Regions from separate parts of the Homo sapiens genome. Here region 1 is linked to region 2. Evidence: promoter capture Hi-C in 16 types of primary human blood cells and fetal thymus (Javierre and others, 2016). All regions are on one chromosome and are shown on one strand. Each heading gives the region's core, a stretch centred on a gene start or on the middle of the fragment in contact. The rest is flanking DNA. Distances are from core to core; before and after follow the strand shown. Region 1 overlaps LOC105373883 (a long non-coding RNA gene). Region 2 holds the start of ZNF142 (zinc finger protein 142).

Region 1 (3,677 bases), core at 21-2,520, 700 kb after region 2:
AAAAAAAAAGAGAGAGAAGAGGCAGCTCCTCCGAGATGGGTCAGAGCTCTATGGGGAGCCCCAGGTGGGCATCTAGATGGTGAAGAGCCCAAAGACTCTAGAAGTGGGTTCTCGGGACTTGCGCATGCGTACATGTGTTTATATGTGTATACATGTGTTTATATGTTTGTGCATGGGTGTTGTGTCCATGTGTTTATATGTGTGTGCATGTGTTTGTATGAATCAATGTGTACTGTATGCATGTGTGTTTGTGTGTGCGTATGTAGGTTTGTATGTGTGGGAGATGTATTTGTGTATGTAGATGGGATGTGTGTGTCAATGTGTATATGTGTACATGTAGTGTACTTGTATTCATTGTCTATTACTTTTTTTAAAAATCCAGTTTTAGCAAAGAATATCTATGGCTTATTGCTACATGACAAATTACCCCAAAGCTTAGTCGCTTAAACTATAAACATCTATTTCACAGTTTCTGTGGACTGGGAATCTGAGAGAGGCTTAGCTGGGTATTTTTGGTTCAGGGTCTCTCTTGAAGTTGCAGTGAAGATGTTACTCAGGGTTGGCTGTAGTCTTCTGAAGGCTTGCGTGGGGCTAGAGGATCCACTTTCAAGATGACTCACCCTCCTGGCAAGACGATGCTGGCTGTTGGCAGGAGGTCTCAGTTCCCTACCACATCAGCCTCTCCATATGGCTGCTTGAGTGCCTCATGACACAGCAGCTGGCTTCCTCTGGAGTGAGTGACCTGAGAGAGAGAGAGAACCAGGCAAAAGCCACAGTGTTTTTAAAACCTAGCTTTGGAAGTCCCATGCCATCATTTCTGCCATATTATACTGGCCACAGAGACCAACCCTGATACACTGTGGGAGGGACTACACAAAGGCATGAATTCCAAGAGGTAAGGATCACTGGAGGTCATCTTGTAGGATGGCTATCACATGCAGTATGTGCGTGTGGGTATGTGGGGTGTGTGTTTGTGGGTGTGTACATAAAGATGTGTGTGTTTGTGTATATATGTGTATGTTTTTGCATATGTATATATGGATATATAGCAATATGTTTGTGTGACATGTATCTATGTATTGTCTGCATATGTGTATGCATGCATTTATGTATATGTATCTGTGTATTGCACATGTGTGTTTTTTGCGCACGAGTATGCATGCATGTATTATGCCTACATGCATGTCTCTGTGTTTGTATGTTGTGCATGTGTGCATATATGTGTATGCCTTTTTGTATGTATTTGTAGTATGTGAATGAGCATATGTATGCATGTGTGATGGGTTTGTATATGTATCCAGGTGTATATGTGTGTCTATGCCTGTGGCTGTATATGTTTGCAAACATTGTATGTGCATGTGCACCTGTGTTGTGTGTGTGCATGTATGCTTACATGTGTGTGTTTCTGTATAGATGTCCATGTGTAAGTCCGCATGTGTCTGTTTATGTGTGTGTAGGTGTATATATGTTACGTTTATGTATGTGTGTGAGGTGTATGTGTGTAGGTTTGAGAATATGTGTGTGCATTACTATGTACATATTGCACTTGTATATATAAATGTGTGCTGGCACATGCATACAAACTTAGGAATGTCACCTGCTGTGGGAGGAAAGCCTGGAGTCAGGAGTGGGGAGACTCAGGGAGGAGTCCCTATTATTCCTGGGGTAGCCCATGAGTGGAAGGCTCTGGAGCCTGGAGAGCAGGCTCTCCCTTGCATTTAGGATATGTGGATCCATGGTCCTCTGCATCTGGCTTTCCTTTGTCAAGGCTTTCTGTTGTTGTTCATTTTTGTTTGAACATTTCAGTCTTTCCTAAGCTGTCAAATAAAGCAGCAGAGAAAGGGTGGTCTCTATTGCCTGGAAGTTGAGAGTTCAGTGTAGACTAGTGCCCCTTTGGGGCTGGCCTGGGGAAAACAAGGGGATTTCCCTGGAGAGCACGGCTGACCCTCCCTCTCATCTCTTCTCGCCTAGGGCCACTCTGGGAGCTTCTGGAGTTTATTGGGCAAGAAGGGAGGGCATTTCTTTACTTCTAATAATCCAGTCATCTTAGGAGCCACTCTTTTCCTCTTTCCATTTAGAATATTTCTGACACCAACTTTTGTGTTTAGAAGCTTTTATGCTTTTTTTTAAAAAAAGTATTTTTACCTTTTGATTATGAAAGGTAATACATATGAACAGAAGTAGACAGAATGTAAAGATACAGCTCAACAGATTTTCAGAGTGAATAGCCATTTATACTATCCAATAAGAGGGTTCAGGACATGCCACCCAGAAACATGGCACACTGGCATGTTGAATATTTTAAGCTGGAAGGATCTGAGAAACAGCATGTGCAGGACAATCTCTCTGACTTCCCTGATCCTTCTCTCCTGAAGGGATCTCCCTGATCCTTTCCCCATGTGAAAGGTGTCCTTCCTCCAAAGATGGGGACACAGACAGGAATCTGAACACATGGGCCTTGTTAAGTCTTTTGGGTAAATAAAATTAGTTTTAAGATTGTTGGCAGGCTGGGCGCAGTGGCTCACACCCCTAATCCCAGTGCTTTGGGAGGCTGAGACAGGAGCATTACTTGCGCCCAGGAGTTTGAAACCAGCTTGGACAACATACTGAGACTTGGTCTTTACAAAAAGTTTAAAAAGTAGGCCGGGCTTAGGGGCTCACGCCTGTAATCCCCGCACTTTGGGAGGCCGAGGTGGGTGGATCACTTGAGGTCAGGAGTTCAAGATAAGCCTGGCCAACATGGTGAAACCCCGCCTCTACTAAAAATACAAAAAATTAGACTGGCGTGGTGGCAGGCGCCTGTAATCCCAGCTAGTTGGGAGGCTGAGGCAGGTGAATCCCTTGAGCTTAGAAGTTCAAGGCTGCAGTGAGCTGTGTTCACACCACTGCAATCCAGTCTGGGCAGCAGAGTGAGACCTTGTTTATATAGATTAAAAAAAAAAAAAGCCAGGTACAGTGGCTCACGCCTGTAATCCTAGCACTTTGGGAGGCCGAGGCAGGTTGATCACAAGGTCAGGAGTTCAAGACCAGCCTGACCAACATGGTGAAACTCCGCCTCTACTAAAAATACAAAAATTAGCTGGGCGTGGTGGTACACACCTGTAATCCCAGCTACTCAGGAGGCTGAGGCAGGAGAATCACTTGAACTCAGGAGGCGGAGGTTGCAGTAAGCCAAGATGGCTCCATTCCATTGCACTCCAGCCTGGGTGACAGAGCCAGGCTCTGTAAAAAAAAAAAAAAAAAAAAAAAAAAAAAAAAAAAAAAATTGTTGATAAAATAAAAGCAGAAATGTCTTTGGAGTTGTCAGCATTAAATAGAATGCAGAACTACAATTTTATTTTACCTGGGTTTACTGGTCAAACAATGTTATATCAACTAGATGTTTAAGGTTATAAAACTATAAATCTAAACTAAGAATAAAATATACAATAAAAATAAATTGCTTGATGCATATCAAGCATAGCAGTTTTTAAAAAAAGACAGAGAAGAACCATATATTTAAATTTTTAGGTTTTTTGCTTCTGTTATTTTTTTTTAAACAGGGTTTAGCTTTGTTGCCCAGGCTGGAGTACAATGGCATGATTATGGCTCATTGCAGCCTCAACCTCCCAGGCTCGAGCAATTCTTACCACCTCAGCCTCCCAAGTAGCTAAAACTTCAGGAGAATGCCACCATGG
Region 2 (3,846 bases), core at 1,347-3,846:
AGGCTGGTCTCGAACTTCTGACCTTGGGTGATCTGCCCGTTTTGGCCTCCCAAAGTGCTGGGATTATAGGCGTGAGCCACCTTGCCTGGTCCCTTTCCCTCTTAACCTTTGATAATCTCACTATTCCTCAGCATGGATTATAAGGAAGGCCCTTCCTTCATCATCTGGCTCCTGCTGACCTCCCCTGACTCATCTCCCACTTCTCCCCTCAGCAGATCTCTGAACCAGATGATGTGCCATTCTCCAGACCCACCACATTCTCTTTTGCTTTCATACCCTCACAGCCTTTTGCGTCTCTTGGCTTGATATGCCTTTTCCCCTTCTCAATCTCTCTCTCTTATCTGGCTAACCAATTAACTATCCTTGAAGAAGCTGCACAAATGTCACTTCCACCATGAAGGCCTCCTGACATTCTTTTTTTTGAGACAGTCTTAGTCTGTCACCTAGGCTGGAGGGCAGTGGCACGATCTCAGCTCACTACAACCTCTGCCTCCTGGGTTCAAGCGATTCTCCTGCCTCAGCCTCCTGAGTAGCTGGGATTACAGGCATGTACCACCACGCCTGGCTACTATTTTGTATTTTTAGTAGAGATGGGGTTTCTCCATGTTGGTTGGGCTGGTCTTGAACTCCAGAACTCAGGTGATCCACCTGCCTCGGCCTCCCAAAGTGCTGGGATTACAGGCGTGAGGCACCGCGCCGGGCCTGGCTTCCCGAAACTCTTATCTTCTCTCTTCTGGCGTCCTAAGGGCACTCTGTACACAGCCCTATCAGAAACGAGGTCACACTGCACTGTTGTTTACCTGTCAGTCTCTCTCCCTAGATGTATAGCTTTTTTAGTAATTTGTTGACATTATCACTTCAATGATATTACTTTGTGATACTGACATTATCACTTCAACGAACACAAATCACCCACAATCGAAGATTCCAGTGAAGAACCACAGATATGGAGCTGCATTGGAGTAAAGCTAGGTATCTTGTACAAAACCAGTGGTTCCTCACCTATAACGTAACACATTTGGAGAAATTTCAAACTCATTAACTGACTATGGCCTCAAACTAAATATGGGAACATAACTGAGGAATGAATGACAATTGAATTGCATACCCTGTTATACATGGCTAAAATGAGTTTAAGCTGAATAATTAGTAATTAATAAGAATGATGGGAATCACTTCATGAAATTGAGTCACAGACAAGATGCAAAAAGAAAAAAAGAAGAAGAAACCAGGCCGGGCGCGGTGGCTCAGGCCTGTAATCCCAGCACTTTGGGAGGCCAAGGCGGGCCGATCACCTGAGGTCAGAAGTTCGAGACCAGCCTGGCGAACATTGTGAAACCCTGTTTCTACTAAAAATACAAAAAATCAGCAGGGTGTGGTGGCACACGCCTGTAATCCCAGCTACTCGGGAGGCTGAGGCAGGAGAATCGCTGGAACCCGGGAGGCGGAGGTTGCAGTGAGCCGAGATCGCACCATTGCACCCCAGCTTGGGCAACAAGAGCGAAACTCCGTCTCAAAAAAAAAACAAACAAAAACCAAGATCCTGCAATCTGATAGTCCCTATTTCCAGAATCCCATGGACTCAAAACAACAGATCACAGGGATTCACAAGGTGGCTGGAAAGTGCACTCCCGTGGTCAGAGGGATTCTCTGGAAACTGCAGCCTCCACTTACTGAATATTATCGCTGTTCTGGGGAATCTTCAAGCTTGACCATACATGGCCTCCGGGGGGAGCCAAGGAGGACGCTGAGCCGTCAAGATTAAGAACCTTCACCTGCGGGAGGGCAGGGTGAGGTAGGAGACAGGTGGGCACCAGAGAAGAAATACGCTTATCTTCCGGGCAGGAGGGCTGAGGAAGAGAAAGGACAGACTAAGGCAGAGAGAAGGCCTGGAGAAACAACGGGCCCCGGCCTAGCGACCCAGGTTCCCACCTGCCTCTGGCTCTGACTCACCGCGTGGTCTTGGACAGACACAGTCGCTTCGCTTCTCTGGGCCTCAGCTTTCCTATCTGTAAAATGGAGGTGATGACAGTGTCCACATCGTCGGGCAGGAGCTGGATCATAAGAGCCAGCGAACTGGAAAGGCGGTTTGTAACCTGGAAGGCTTGGGATGGAGCATCGTCATGATTTTGTCCTGAGAGCAGCAGGTACCCGGGCGGGGTCCAGAACCGTGACGCGACTGCAGCGCCGGGGCCCAGCTCGTCTGGGTGCTCCCTTCAGTACCTCCTTCCGAGAGTTCCCAGCGCCCAGGCCCACCCTGATCCCGGGGCTCGAAAAACTTTGCCTCCAGCTCGCTCCACCCGCATTCCCTTCCCAGTTCCGCCCCGCAGCCGCTCACTCACCTCCAGACCCAGAGCCGGCGGGAGCCGCATCTCTATGGTCGGCCGCGGCTGGAACGGCCCCCGGGGCCCGCTTTGTGCGACCGCCTCCGGCTCAGCCGCCTCTAGGATATTGGGGATGTGGAAGCCACTCTCTCTTCCTCTTGCCGGCTGCCGGGGTACTCTATGTTTTGTCTCTGTGGTTTTTCCCGCCCTCCACCCCCACTCCAGCCCTGAAGCCGGAGAAGCACCATCGAGAGCTCTGGGGTAGAGTGGCGTGGGCTTCTCTGTGGGTGTGGCGGGAAGTAGATGAAAGGACCCGGGGCGGGGCCGAACGCAGCTTCCCCAAGGTGCAGGCGCGGTGAAACCATCGAGACGGAGGGCCAGAGAGTCACGGCGGTGAGAGGGCTGAGTGACGGGTTACCCCAAACCATGTGGCTGGAGGCGCGAGCTGGGGTGTGGGCGAGGTTCAGGAGGGGGTTCCTGGGTGTCGCGGAGGGGCCGGGGACGGGAGAGCTTTGTCTGTGGCCTTCCATGCATAGGTGTTTTGGAATTCTGGATCCCAGTTCTGAGGCTCAGCCGAGGTCACTGCTGTCAGCTCACCTCCCTGCATGCCAGGCGCAGGGCAAAGTGGCCGGGGTTCGGGGTTGGAGGAGAGGTGTACTAGAAACAACTTTGCTCTTGTCCCTCAGGATCTTATTGTCTACGATGTGACGATCCGTGGAGAAAGTAGCAGATGGGCAGATTTTCATTTGGGGAGAATGAGGGAGAAAAGAACGGGCATTCCGAGCCAAGAGCACTGCATGAGCAAGGAGTTGGGAGGTTGCTTACTTGTTGAACATATTTGTTGCGTATTTGCATATTTGCTAAACAGGTAGTGTTAGGAGCTAATCCATGAAAGGTAGGTGGGCGCCGTATTGTAGAGAGCCTTGAGTACCAGGCTGAGTTTATACCCAATTCAGGGGTCTGCTGGGAGCCAGCCATTGAAGGTGCTGGAGCAGAGAGAGATATGGTATTGGAGCTGATCCCTATGATGAAAGATCTGGACCCTTGTGTAGATGTTCCGTGAAGCAGGAGGTGAAGACCTATTAAAATGCCATTTCAAGAACTACGATTTTAAAGACAGTTTAGGTGGGAGGTAATAAAGGTCTAAACAAGACGTTAAATATTGGGGACGTAAGGGGGAGGATATTTGAAGGACATTACTCATAACAAGACATAGGGTTACTGACAAGTCAACGGACGCTTCTCCCTTGCTGACTGCAGCCAATGGACCCCTTTTTATCATAGCTGGTCCCAGGGACCACAAAAATCCTGTCCATCCATTACCCTGATGTGAAGCCTGTTTATATAGCTCTTTTTGGTTTAAGGCATCTCCAGACATGGTCCTCTGGTAGGAAACAGGTATGAGTAGACTAATGAAGGACAAAATGGGATGAGGGACCTGGAGCCTCCACCCTTGCATTCCAATACCACCCTTACCCCACAAAAGGAGGGTATTGACCCACACAGTAATGCTGACCTGTGG

The links. The method cuts DNA at HindIII sites, captures the fragments that hold promoters and counts their contacts. A CHiCAGO score of 5 or more calls a contact.
Region 1: a contact is called between a fragment that was not itself captured here and the fragment with the promoter of ZNF142 in region 2, in 1 of 17 cell types (total B cells). The highest score is 5.7, in total B cells.

Annotation. Positions count from the first base shown.
Region 1 is chr2:219,362,067-219,365,743 of GRCh38, forward strand. It overlaps LOC105373883 (a long non-coding RNA gene), which reads right to left. Exons shown (of 2, transcript XR_923917.3): 2 at 436-742. Among named protein-coding and RNA genes, the nearest start is that of DNPEP, 24 kb to the right of the region's middle. RefSeq lists an enhancer at 497-546. The HindIII fragment of the contact is 1,677 bases long and covers 433-2,109 here.
Region 2 is chr2:218,657,027-218,660,872 of GRCh38, forward strand. It overlaps ZNF142 (zinc finger protein 142), which reads right to left and starts at 2,597. Exons shown (of 11, transcript NM_001379659.1): 1 at 2,343-2,597; 2 at 1,954-2,104; 3 at 1,675-1,850. BCS1L (BCS1 ubiquinol-cytochrome c reductase complex chaperone) reads left to right here and starts at 2,657. Exons shown (of 8, transcript NM_001079866.2): 1 at 2,657-2,717. RefSeq lists enhancers at 1,721-1,840, 2,651-2,780. The HindIII fragment of the contact is 10,571 bases long and covers 1,706-3,846 here.